3 separate regions of the Homo sapiens genome follow, and regions 2 and 3 are each linked to region 1. Evidence: promoter capture Hi-C in 16 types of primary human blood cells and fetal thymus (Javierre and others, 2016). All regions are on one chromosome and are shown on one strand. The core of a region is centred on a gene start or on the middle of the fragment in contact, and the rest is flanking DNA. Distances in the headings are between cores, read along the strand shown.

Region 1 (4,408 bases), core at 621-3,120:
AGGGATAGCTTGAAAAAGAGAACAGTCCTAGACCTGTAAGAAGGGATAAAAATTAGTAAACCTATCTAGAAAGCAATTGGGTAACTTGTATCAAAAGCCATTCCATTGTATATGCCTTAAGTCTCAGTAATTTCACTTGTAGCATTTTATTCTAAGGAAATTATCAGACACGCACATAGAGTTACACCGATAGGTACCGGTAAAAAGCTACAAACAGCAAACATGCCTAACAATAAGAGACTGAATACATTATGGTCCATTTTTGGACAGACTATGCAGTCAAAAACTATTCTTTGAAAGAATACTTAAGAATATAAGAAAATGCTTTTGATAATGTTAAGTGGAAAAAATTACACAAATATGTACTGAATATTTTGTAAAAATTATATATATATATATATGAATACACAAAACTAGAAAAAGACTGGGTGGATATACACAAAAATGTTCACAGTAGTTATATCTGTGTTGTGTCTCTTAACTTCTTCACTCATTTCTGTCTTTTCCAAGTGTGTTAACCTTATCATTATAAAGAATAATAAAGCTTATTCGTGTTTTAGTGGATAAAACCAGGACTGATTCTCTGGAGAAGACAATTCCTTCCTGGTGGGAAGGACCACTTAAACTATTAGATCATAATCTCTTTGTAGGGCCACCGAATCAGATCACAGGGTTCTGTCCATCAAGAGTCTAGTACTGGTAAAAGAGGAGACTTAAAGAAGTCTCCTACTCTCCTGTCGTCCTTTCTGCGCTTGCCCTCTCCCTGCAAAGCTCCTACTTGATTCACTGGGACATTTCTGAAAGGCCTAGGAACAGCCCCGGGCGGTACTTCTCTCCCCAGTCCCAGTCCTGAACGTGCGCTCTGCTCCCTCTTCTACCCCTCACCCTTCTCTCTCCTGGATTCGCCTCTGCTGCAACCAAACCCGTAGACTGCAAACGCTAGGAAGGAGACCATGTCTCCCAAGTTTGGGGCTGAGTTTCGTTAGATAGTAAAATCTACCAGCAGGTGCCGCTCCAACCACGGCCCACAGGACCCTTCCCGTTTGCGAGTTGCTGCGGCTCGACTGGGAAACACTCACTTTATCTTGACAGAGTTGAGTGGGAGTCTTGGGTGCACACTGGGACGTCGTGTTTCGTTACTTTAAAAAAGAAAAGTCACTTCCGTCAGGCCCCCCTTTCTCCTCACCCTCGTGTGTGCTTCGAGGCCGAGATGCAGAGAGCAAGAAAAAGGAGCGAAGGGGATCCCTGCGCGTCCCAAGCACCCACCAGCGCCTACGGTGTGAGATGAAGGCGCACCCCCTGGGCGCGAAGCTTTTAAAGCACCTGCCCAGGGAGACATTTTTGAAGTTGTCAGGGCCCCTCCTCTGTCCCCTCCCAGACCCGGGTCCTGCACAAATCCTGGAGGGTTAGCGGGCGAGGCGGCCACCGCAGCGGCCGCCAACGAGCAGCTGCACGGAGGTGCAGAAGAAGGAGGCCACTGCCATTCTCCTGACAAGCTGGGGGCGTGGGAGGCCTCGGGAGCTCGAAGTCGCCTCGAGCGGGGGTGGGCGGTGAGCGGACCCCCGGGTGTTGACCAGGTGTTTGGTGGTAGAGCAGGGAAGGGGGGAACGGACGTCGACCCTAGGGATCCCTCACCCGCTCACGCTCCTTGGCGTTGGCCACACGCCGCCGCTCCAGCACCAACTGGAGGTTTTCAGTGGACGAGTAGCCGCCCGAGGGCAGCCGCTTGAGCCGGCAGACAGCGGCCAGCTGGGGCAGCGGCCCGAACTGCTCCCGCAACACGTCCTCCAGCACCTCGGCTTGCGGGGTGCCCAGGAGCGCGGGCGGCGCGGCGCGGGGATCTAGGACGCCGGGCGCGGGGTCCATGGCAGGGCCGAGGCCGCTGAGGCCGGGCTTTCACCTGCGCACCCGGGGCCGCACGAGGCCCGGGCGGGGGCGGGGCGGGGGCGGGAGCTGGACCACCTGCAACCATTCCCCGGCTGCGTATTCCAATCCCGGCCTCCTCTCTGGAGGCTGCGTCCAGGCATCGCGTTGAATAAGCCGCACAGGTGTGACTCGGGAGCGCTGGAGCGCAGCCCCGGCTGCACACCTGGAACCGCCGGGAGCGTGGTAGTGGTGTTTTTCTCAATCCACATGCCACGGTTCCAGTCCCCCAAATTCCCATTTAATCAATCTGTCTTGGGGCCTGAGCTTCTGGCTATGTGTATACAGAAAAATGTGATGGATATCCACAAAACTTTTTTAAGAATTCGTTTTGAAATAAAAGTTGCGGGGAAAATGGCAAGAAGAGTTTCTAAGAGCTCCTGTACCCCCTTCGCCACGCTCTCTACTTGCTAAGTTTTCACGTTTGCTCCGTTGCCCTCTTTCTCGCTGTGAATATTCTCATTTTCATTATTCTTTTTCCATTCTATTTGAACTATTTTCTTTTTTCGCGAGTGGGGGGATACATCGCTTTATTCATTTTCCCCCTTTTCCACACAGACCTTTATTGTCAACACAGCCAAACACAGTTGTTACTTCAGAAAATGTGCTGGAAAATAGCGATCCCAAACTTGTTTAATAGTAGAGTACAATTTAGTACTCTAGAAATAATTAACTACATCTTCTGTTTTGAGTAGATTACTCATGAGAGTTTGTTTCTCTGGAGGTTATCAATATAACTGGAACATTCTGATCTTGCACCTGAAAATCAGACATGTTTCTGGAAGCCCTCTGTAAAATCATTCCTTCCAAGCATAGAAATACATTTTTTTTTCTTTGGTCTGAGAAAATATTTTTTCTACGCTTTTGTTTCAGGTTCAGGGGTATATGTGCAGGTTTGTTAAGTGGGTAAATTGTGTGTTGCTGAGGTTTGGTGTACGAATGATCCCGTGGCGTAAGTAGTGAGCCTAGTACCCAATAGGTATCCTTCCAACCCACGCCCCCCTCTTACTTCCCCCTCAAGCAGACCCCAGTGTCTATTGTTTCCATCTTTGTGTCCCTGTGTATTCAATGTTTAGCTCACACTTATAAAGTGAGAACAGGCAATGTTTGGTTTTCTGTTTCTGTGTTAGTTCCCTTACAATAATGACGTCTAGCTGCATCCATTGATCTATTCTTTTTTTAAAGTTTTTAAGTTGCAGACATGCTGTCATATCACCTCTAAATACTCCAGTGGGTATTCCCCCTAAACAAGGCCTCTCTTCCACATAACCGCAACACAACCACTCAAACTAGGAAGTAAGCATTGGTACTGTGCTACCATACAATCCATGGACCCCATCAAAGTACCACCAGCTGTCTCAACAATGTCTTTTTCTCTTCTGGTTGGAATCCAATCCAGGAGTACAAGTTTTATTCTGTTGTCATATTTCTACTCTCCTTCATTCTGGACCATTTCCTCCATCTTGTCCTGTCTTCATGCCCTTGACAGTTTAAAAGAGTAGGGGCCTTTCATTCTGTAGTATGTCCCTCGACCTGGGGTTGTCCACTATTTGCTCATGTCCAGACCCCAGCCATGCCTTCATGGAGGGGCTCCATATAAATGATGCTGGGCTCTTCTCAGTGCATCACATCAGGAAGTACATGAGGTTGATCTGCCCCACCACTGGTGATGTTAACCTTAATCGCCTGGTCAAGGTGGTGGTGTCAGGTTTTTTCACCATAAATTGATAAATATTTTGTGGGCCAGGCACGGTGGCTCATGCCTGTAATCCCAGCACTTTGGGAGGCTGAGGCGGGCGGATCACGAGGTCAGGAGATTGAGACCATCCTGGCTAACATGGTGAAACCCTGTCTCTATTAAAAAATATTAAAAAATTAGACGGGCGCGGTGGCGGGTGCCTGTAGTCCCAGCTACTCAGGAGGCTGAGGCAGGAGAATGGTGTGAACCCGGAAGGCGGAGCTTGCAGTGAGCCTAGATCTGTGCCACTGCACTCCAGCCTGGGCAACAGAGCAAGACTCCGTCTCAAAAAATAAAAATAAAAAAAAATTTTGTGAGGAGATACTCCTTCTCATCCATTGTTGACTCCTACCTGAATCAACCAGCACTACAATTAGAGGCAAATGATTGGCATTCTACTGTGAAAAAGAGCTTTCCCTTCTTCCCATTTATTTATTCATTTTGTATTTATGTCAGCATGGGCTCATGAATTTCTATTTTAGTCACAGGATATAATTTATTTACATCATTATGTTAATGCTCAAATTGTCTCAGATTTGGCTTATGGGAGGCCCTCTAAGCTGGCTCCTCTGTCCTTTTCATATGACTCCCTCATTCTTTGTGCACTTTCTCACTTGTCCCAGGAAGGCTCTTCTTGAATTTTCCCAGCCCCAGCCCAGGGATCAGTCTATTCTTCTTTTAGTGGAAGGTAGGATTTAGAAACCAAGATCTGTGTGCTTGCTTGCTCATTCCTTTTGGGATGTCATT
Region 2 (4,408 bases), core at 1-2,500, 170 kb after region 1:
TCCAGGGCTTGGTCTCAGCCTGGCCATTCCTCCCCTGCCCCCCACTCCATTTCTCACAGGGTCACTGAACCTCCCACCCACCCTTCCTAGCTTCAGCCTCTCATCCCCTTTCTTACCCCAGTGCCCATGGATATTGCAGGTCTCTGCTGCTAGAGAGGAGGTGCCTGGGCGCCGAGGGTTTCCTGGATATATGTACACAGACCTGGCCACCATCTACGAGCGGGCGGGCCGCGTGGAGGGTCGGGGAGGATCCATCACACAGATCCCCATCCTCACCATGCCCAACGACGGTAGCCTCCTCACAGCCCACTACCCTCCAGAGCTCCCCTGTCCTCCCTTTTCCAACCAGATACTTAAAGGGCCCACGTTGCTTTGCACAGATGTGCAGCAGCGCTTTTCCTCCATCGAGATAGACACTGCCCTTTCCTCCACCATCCATGCCCCCCACACATCCCTATCACTCCCATGAGGGAAACAGACCCCAGGTGGCCCTGAGTGGTTGGAGACCTGGGCCCCCACCCACACTGAGGCCAGTGAGTTTTCTTGTAGATATCACCCACCCTATCCCAGACTTGACGGGCTTCATCACAGAGGGACAGATCTACGTGGACAGACAGCTTCACAACAGACAGGTACTGCCCTGTCCCTACCCACTTCCTGCTCTCAGCCCAGAGAAACACTGAGGAACAGATGTTTCACTGCCCCCAGGCATGAATTAGGAGGGGCCAGCCAAAGCGAACCCCAAACAGGAGACAGCCACAGGGAAGACTGCATGGTTCACAGACAGAAGACAGGCCTGAGCAGAATCTGGTTTACCTGGCTCTGGGATCTTGAGAAGATAATTTCATCTCTTGGATCCTAGGTTTCCTCATCCATAAAATGGGAATAATCAAATATATCACCCAGACGCATTGTGGAGGATAAAAATAAGTTGGCATATAGAAAGCATCTGGCAGATAGTCAATACTATTTGCCTTCCCTTTCCAGTTATTTGCTTCGGTGGGCAGAAAACAACGGCTAACTAACACACATCTGTCCTGTGTGTAGGTTAAAGGTGACCTCTATGACGTTTTTCTCTTTGCTTGGCAGGTATTTTTTTTTTTTTTTTTTTTTTGCAGCTATTAACCATTAAGCTTCAAAGTGGTTTTTGTCCACATTATCAAAAGTTTTGAAATACTGAGCCTTTTATTAACTAATGCCATGTCATCTTCCCCCTCCACTGTTCTGTCTAGGGCCACATATAAGACAGCTGATGCCCAAGCCCTAGAATTTGTGGGAGATAAGAGAGGGTGGGTGTGGCTGTTGACCCCTCGGAATGTAGGATAAGTGAGGAGCTTCTCCTGAGAACAATTTGGGGACAGGGGGAGCAAAGCTTGAGTCCTGCTGTCCACCACTCCCTTTTTCTTCTCCCTCAGATCTACCCCCCCATCAACGTGCTCCCTTCCCTGTCGCGGCTGATGAAGTCAGCCATTGGGGAAGGCATGACAAGAAAGGACCATGGAGATGTCTCCAACCAGCTGGTAAGGAGAAGAGGGTCCGGGGGCTGGTAGGTCCTCTAGTTTCCGAAGCTGAAGGCCTGAGCCCCATCTGAAGGACAAGCTTTTCTCCTGGCAAAATTCCTTTCCGAACGGGGTCCCAGTGTGGCCAGGTTGGGGGCTACTGGACTCCCGTGGTAAGCCCGCAGCGGCCACCGACGCCTTGCCCCTCCCCCAGTACGCCTGCTATGCCATCGGGAAGGACGTGCAGGCCATGAAGGCAGTAGTTGGGGAGGAGGCGCTCACCTCTGAGGACCTGCTCTACCTGGAATTCCTGCAGAAGTTTGAGAAGAACTTCATCAATCAGGGTAAGGCGCGTCGCTGGTGTGGAGCCAGTAACCTCTTCACCCTCCTTCCGCCCCACACACATTCCTAACACTCCCTCCCGCTCTGTCCCTAGGCCCCTACGAGAACCGCTCGGTGTTCGAGTCGCTGGACCTGGGCTGGAAGCTGCTGCGCATCTTCCCCAAGGAGATGCTGAAGCGCATTCCGCAGGCCGTGATCGACGAGTTCTATTCCCGCGAGGGGGCGCTGCAGGACCTCGCGCCTGACACTGCGCTCTAGCCCCGCGCGCCGTGGCACCCCAACACCGGCAGGGAACCTACCCTCGGCTCCCGGGTCTCCCCTCCCTCGCCACCCCAACCAGCGGCTTCTGCGCCGCCCTCCGCCCTCCGCTGGCTCCGAGGTGGTGGGGGCGCCGCACGCTCCATCCCTTTCCCTCGCTCGATTCCTTTTCCCGCGCTCCATGCCTCCCCCTCGACTCCCGGTGCTGCGGAAGAACTGAAGGTTGCGATGCCTTACTCTGACGGGAGCATCTGTATTTTTATGTTAAAAGCCCACAAAATAAAAATAAAAAGTAACTGAGATGAATTTACCTTCGTTGAAAACAAGATTGGCAAAAGAAAGATAAAAATGAAAGGAAAAGATAATTGTTGAAGCTGGGGGCTGGGGTTATGAGCACACGGAGTTCATTAAACTATTCTCCCTATTTAAAAAAAAAAAAAAAAAAAAAAGCCCAACGCGGATGCTGAGACTGTTGTCCCAGCTACTCTGGAGGCTGAGACGGGAGGATCGCTTGAGCTCAGGAGTTCTGGTCTGTCGTGCGCTATGCTGATATGGTGTCCACACTAAGTTGGGCATCAATATGGTGACCTCCCGGAGACGGGGGCCATTAGGTTCCCTAAGGAGGGGTGAACAAGTCCAGGTCTGAAACCAAACAGGTCATAACTCCAGTGCTGATCAATAGCAGAACCGTTCCTGGGAATAGCCACTGCACTTCAGCCTGGGCAACATAGCGAGACTCTGTCTCTTAAAAAAAAAAATAAAAATTAAATTTAAGCCCGGCGCGGTGGCTCACGCCTGTAATCCAAGTACTTTGGGAGGCCGAGGCGGGGGTCACTTGAGGTCCGGAGTTCGAGACCAGCCTGGTCAACATGGCGAAACCCCCGTCTCTACTAATACAAAAAAAATTAGTTGGGTGTGATATCGCACGCCTGTAATCCCAGCTACTAGGGAGGTTGAGAAAGGAGAATCACTTGAACGCGGGGGGCAGAGGTTGCAGTGAGCTGAGATCGCGCCACTGCACTCCAGCCTGGGCGACAGAGTAAAACTCCATCTCATATTAATTAATTAATTAATTAATTTTTAAAAAGCTGCATTAATGTCTTAACAGTTGACAATAAAATTTTTCTTAGGGAGATAATTATCTTCCTTAAGAAATAGCTTGGGCCAGGAGCGGTGGCTCACATCTGTTAATCCCAGCACTTTGGGAGGCCGAGGCGGGCGGATCACTTGAGGTCGAGAGTTCGAGACCAGCCTGACCGATATGGAGAAACCGCATCTCTACTAAAAATACAAAAAAAAAAAAAAAAAAATTAGCCGGCTGTGGTGGCACATCCCTGTAATCCCAGCTACATGGGAGGCTGAGGCAGGAGAATCGCTTGAACCTGGGAGGCAGAGGTTGCGGTGTGCCAAGATTGCACCATTGCACTCCAGCTTGGGCAATAAGAGTGAGACTCCGTCTCAAAAAAAAAAAAAAAGAAAAAAGAAAAAAGAAAAAGAAAAAAGAAAGAAAGAAATAGCTTGATAGGCTGGGTGTGATAATTCAAGCCTGTAATCCCAGCACTTTGGGAGGCTGAGACAGGATTGATTGCTTGAGCCCAGGAGTTAAAGACCAGCCTGGGCAACATAGTGAGACCCCTGTATCTACTAAAATAATTTTTAAAAATCACCTAGGTGGCACACACCTGTAGTCCAGCTACCCAGGAGGCTGAAGCGGGAGGATTACTTGAGCCTGGGAGGTCAGGCTGCAGTGAGCCGTGATGGCGCCACTGCACTCCAGCCTGGGCTGCAGAGTGAGACAGGGTCGCCCCCTGTCTCAGTAACAAACAAATAAACACACAAATATCTTGATAAATTTCATGTGGAACATGAGCTCAGGAGCCTTGGAAGGGACAACCAAGGCCACAAAAGATGTGTGTGACTCTAAACAGCTCTGCCTGAGAGATGCTAGGTAGAATTTGGTTTGCTCCAGACAGGAAGGGAGAAGAGTTGCTAGGGAGAGGGCCTGAAGGACTTGGGGGGTATGAGTGCAGAAGACTGAAGATCCCCAGTTAAGAAATGGATGAAGAGTATTCTATAAATTAGGCTGCCTGATGTTCCTTTGAAAGCTGCCAACTTTTTTGTAATATCAATCCCTCCTCTGTCTCCCCTGCCCCATCTACAGTGAAATCATGAATGCTTCCTAGGAAGGGAAAGAAGGGTGGTTTGGGAGGATAGAACTTCAGCAAAGAGCTGAGTTTCATTTCTAGGTAAACGTGTTGTAGATGACGTCAGAATTATTGGATCAAGAGCTAGGACCAAAGGAGGACCTC
Region 3 (4,408 bases), core at 1,340-3,839, 130 kb after region 1:
TGTGTCAGGCACTAAGTGCTTTGCCTATGTTAAGTAACTAATCCCTCCCAAGAAGCAGATGATGTCATTCCCATGTTACACGTGAAAGGAAGTTATGCCCAAGGTCAGACAACTAATTAGTTCCGGAGCTGGGCTTTGGACAAGCAGTCTCTCATCTTTATGCTGCCTATAAACTGGGCAACCTTCCTTGAGATTGTCAAAGAATAACTCAGAGACCCTTCTTTCAGCCAGAGCTCTAGTAGTTTGCTCTCATATATGAGGGAGATCAATCAATACATGCATTGTAAACGACGGCCAAAACAGGATTGATAAAGTGGAGAGGAAGGGAGGAGGGGAATGCGGAAGCACTGGTCTGGAGCAGTGTGCTGGTTTCCTTCCTTGGAGCGAGGCGGGAGGCTGTGCTGGAGTGAGGGCTTCCCGTCTGTGCTGTGTGGCTGCTGTCCTCCCCTGTGTCCCTGCCTCAGTGAGGTCAGCTCTCCCTGTTTCCCTCAGCATAATTCCTCCAGCCCCTCAAATCCCCCCAACAGAGTGCTGTGCAGCCCACCCCTGGGGAGGGGGTAGTCAGATGCGCCTGGAAGTCCTCCTGGTCCCCTTGAGAGGTTAGCAGGTTCCTCCTGGGGTACACTGAGAGTAGGGCAGAGGAAGAGGTGAGAAGGGGTGAGAGGCAGAGGAGGGGCAGGCCGGGAGGAGGGGCAGGCCGGGAGGAGGGGAAGGCCGGGGAAGGACAGCAGCTGCTGTCCTGCAGGGCCGGGTCATCTCCACCTGCACTTGTTTTTCCCCAGCTGCCACTGCAGAGCTCCCAAACAACCCTGCGGGGCCTCCCTCCAGCTGGGCTCAACAGGGGGCTGGGAAGCCAGGCTTGTGCTCAGAGAGGAGGCTGCAGTGGCAGGGCCAGGCCAGAACTCCTGGGGAAGTCACTGAGGCCCGTATTCCCTACACTGAGCTGCCCTTGGAGGTCAAGCCCAAGCCCCCCTCTTCCAGGAAGCCTTCTGCAGGCACCTTGCCCTCTTCCCAAGAGACCCTTCCACATGGCGTGACCTGGAGAGACAGATAGTGTGTGTGTGTGTGTGCACGTGTGTGCATGTGTACATGTGTGTGGTGTTGGATGTCCACCAGTATTTGCTTCCCTAGGACAAGAATGTATTTATAGGCCATGGCTCCTCGTCGTGCTTCACAAGGAGCCCAGAACACAGCTGGACACATAGTAGGCCCTCAGCAAGTCCTCCGCACTGTTCTCACTACAACCCTCCTTCCTCTGTCCCCAGTCCTAGGGTTGACAGATAGTAAAAGTAATGGACAGCTGATGCTTATTGAGCGCTTCCCATGCACCAGGTCCTGTTCCAAGGGTGTGACATAGTCTAACTAGTTTAGTCCTCACCACAACCTTATGGGATACGTGTGAGATTTTTCTTCCAACACCAGGTGTATGGTATGTTCCAACCACCAGCAGGCAGTGCTCCAATTCTCCAGCATCACTGAGTATATTCAACAGTTCAATACTGACACTAATTCCCAGAGCTAGCACAGACCCTACAAGTTAAGGGCTCTGTCCCACAAGACAGTGCCACAGCAGACTCAAGTTCCAGGAGCCACCTGTGCTTCTGAATGGACTGGCCTAAAACCGGGGGCTCCCACATCGCCCTCTGCAGGTTTGACAATTCACTAGAATGACGCACACAACTCAGGAAACACCTCCCCTACACTTGCTGGTTTATTATAAATGACACGAGTGAGGAAGAGCCAGATGGAAGAGACACAAAGGGCAAGGTAAGGGGGAGGTGCGTGGAGCTCCCATGCCGTTTCCAGTGCCCCCATTCCCAGCACTTCCACGTGTTCGCCAACCAGAAGTTCTCCTGGTCTCCTTGTTCAAGACTAAATCCAGGCCGGCCTGGCACAGTGGCTCACGCCTGCAATCCCAGCACTTTGGGAGGCCAAGGAGGGAGGATTGCTCAGGAGTCCAGGAGTTCAAGACCAGCCTTGGCAGCAGAGGGAGACCTTATCTCTAAAAAAAGTTTTTTAAAACATTTTTTACAGTTTACACTGTAAACTGCAGGGTGTGGTGGCACACACCTGTAGTCCCAGCTACTTGGGAGGCTGAGGTGGGAGGATTGTTTGAGCCCAGGAGGTCAAGGCTACAGTGAGCCATGTTAGCTTCACTGCACTCCAGCCTGGATGACAGAGCAAGACTCTATCTCAAAAACAAACAAAAAAAGACTATAATCCAATCTCCATTCCCCTCCCCTCCCTAGAAGGAAAGAATGGGGGCGGCTGAAAGTTTCTACCCTCTAATCACAAGTATGGTCTTTCTAGAACCAGCCCCAGTCCTGAAACTACCTAGAGATCCACCCTGAATCACCTCATTAGCATACAACAGTAAGTCTTATTTATTTATTTATTTATTTATGTTTACTGTAGAGACGGGGTCTCGCTTTGTTTCCTAGGCTGGCCTGGAACTCCTGGTCTCAAGTAATCCTCCCTCCTCGGCCTTCCAAAGTGCTGGGATTATAGGTGTGAGCCACCATGCCCAGCCAATAAGAGTATATTGTTTCCACTTTAAATAGAAGGAAACTGAGGCATAGAAAAGTTAAATAGATAACTTGCTCAAGACTTGCAGCGGGTGCATTCATGGGTAATAGTACCCATGAAGATGGCTTTATGGGTACTATTATCCCCATTTAAGCAAACTGAGCCTCAGAGAGGTTAACTAACTTGTAGCTAGAATTCTGTGGCATTCTCAGTATGTTCACCCATAATTTTGTTCAAAAATATTATTGAATACCTACTATATAGCAGGTACTCTTCTAGGCACTTGGGCTTTGGCTTAGAACAAAACAGACCAGGCATCTGCCCTCGTGCAGCTAAGATCCACAGAGACAAAGACAAACCGCATTTCCAGGAGTGATGAGTGTTGTGAGGGAGCTCAAATGGGGTCATAGGAGAGAGACTAAAAGGAAGTGTTTTACTGGGGTGTTCAGGGAAGGCCTCTTTGAGAAGATGACGTTGAGCTTAGGCCTGAGTGGCAAGGGAGAAACAGCCAGATGAGGAGCCAGAAGGAGACGTCAAGGCAGACGGTAACTATGAAGACGTGAGGGGCAGGAATTGGCATAGAATGTTCTAGAAGTATCAGAAGGCCAGAGTGGCTGGAGCTACAGGGTAATTGGGTAAGTAGGTAGGGGAGGATCATGCGATGCTTAGAGACTATGGTAATACATTGAAGAGAAAGTGACAGGAGATGATTGGCATTTTACAGAGGTTCTCTGGCTGCCACTTGGGGAAGGGACCCACAGGGGAAAGGAGTGGACAGGTGTGGACAGGTAGGAACTACTGACATGGGTCCTGAACAGAGCAGTGGTGGAGGAGAGAAGCGTACTAATGTGAGAGGCACTCTAATTTAGTGCTGGAACATATTAGGACTTGCTCATGGATTATACGCCCAGGGCAAGGGAAAGGAAGTGGTTTGGGTAGAACAACTGGGAGAATGGTGACACCATATAATGAGTTGAGAAACTGGGGGAGAAGCAAGATGGTGGGAGCATAATCAAGAATTTTGTTTTGGATCAGTTAAGTTTGAGATCCCAGCGGAGATGTCAAGAAAGCATGTCAGATTTTGGGGGGAGGGCTGGTTTTTCTCTGGTTTAAGTTATCTGAGAGTCTCTGTCAGAGCTCTTTTGGGGGAAAAGATAAGAAATTCCTTCAAGTGCCCTCAGATAATGGATGGACTCCCCAGGGATTAAAAACAGAAGCCATAGCCTTGTTGAAATTCAATAACAGGAACCATGGTGTAGCCAGGAATTGGAAGAGACTGGAAGCCAAAGGCTCTTTTGGGCCCGAGGGATTCAGCACCAGCTACTCACAGAACTTCCTCCCAGTGCTCTGCTGAGTATGTGCTCCAACTGCTCTCCAAAATATCTGCTTCTCTCTCTGTTTCTTCCTCTCCTCTCCTCTCTTTTTATCTCTTCTCCTCTCTTTTTTCTCTTCTCTTCCTTCTGCCAAATAGCATCTCTACCTTCTTCCCTGGATACTCAGAGGACCCAGGCATGGTCCCAATTCAGGCAGAGAAAACACAGAGCTTGCTCAGGGCCCATTTCCATGGCTAGTCTCTTCTTTAATCTAGCATGCCCAATTCAGCTCAGTTGTCTGCAGATTTAAATCTGAAACCCACTTACAGGATTGGGCAGGCAGAATGGCGAAGCCCTTTCCTTGGCTCTCCACCACTCACAGGGCTCTACAGGACAAAGGGTCCACCAGAGTAGGAACAGTGAACAAGACACAGTGCAGCTGACCTCTGTCCCGGCCTTGCCCAGACTCCATGGCTGTGCAACAGAGGCTAAGCATGGCTGCCCTGGAGAGCAGGGGCAGCCTCAGAGGAATCTCTCTCTCAAGACTATCAAAAGAACCCTCTGCCCAC

Evidence for each region. The method cuts DNA at HindIII sites, captures the fragments that hold promoters and counts their contacts. A CHiCAGO score of 5 or more calls a contact.
Region 2: a contact is called between a fragment that was not itself captured here and the fragment with the promoter of FIGLA in region 1, in 1 of 17 cell types (M0 macrophages). The highest score is 5.1, in M0 macrophages.
Region 3: a contact is called between a fragment that was not itself captured here and the fragment with the promoter of FIGLA in region 1, in 6 of 17 cell types (M0 macrophages, M2 macrophages, M1 macrophages and 3 more). The highest score is 16.0, in M0 macrophages.

What each region holds. Positions count from the first base shown.
Region 1 is chr2:70,788,773-70,793,180 of GRCh38, forward strand. It overlaps FIGLA (folliculogenesis specific bHLH transcription factor), which reads right to left and starts at 1,871. Exons shown (of 5, transcript NM_001004311.3): 1 at 1,636-1,871. The coding sequence starts at 1,866. The HindIII fragment of the contact is 3,375 bases long and covers 1,310-4,408 here.
Region 2 is chr2:70,963,023-70,967,430 of GRCh38, forward strand. It overlaps ATP6V1B1 (ATPase H+ transporting V1 subunit B1), which reads left to right. Exons shown (of 14, transcript NM_001692.4): 10 at 140-290; 11 at 550-632; 12 at 1,416-1,520; 13 at 1,714-1,843; 14 at 1,936-2,409. The coding sequence ends at 2,099. It also overlaps the pseudogene RN7SL160P. Among named protein-coding and RNA genes, the nearest start is that of ANKRD53, 13 kb to the right of the region's middle. RefSeq lists a silencer at 2,144-2,253. The HindIII fragment of the contact is 239 bases long and covers 1,132-1,370 here.
Region 3 is chr2:70,921,966-70,926,373 of GRCh38, forward strand. The region is part of intron 2 of VAX2 (ventral anterior homeobox 2); the gene reads left to right. Among named protein-coding and RNA genes, the nearest start is that of ATP6V1B1, 12 kb to the right of the region's middle. The HindIII fragment of the contact is 8,926 bases long and covers 1-4,408 here.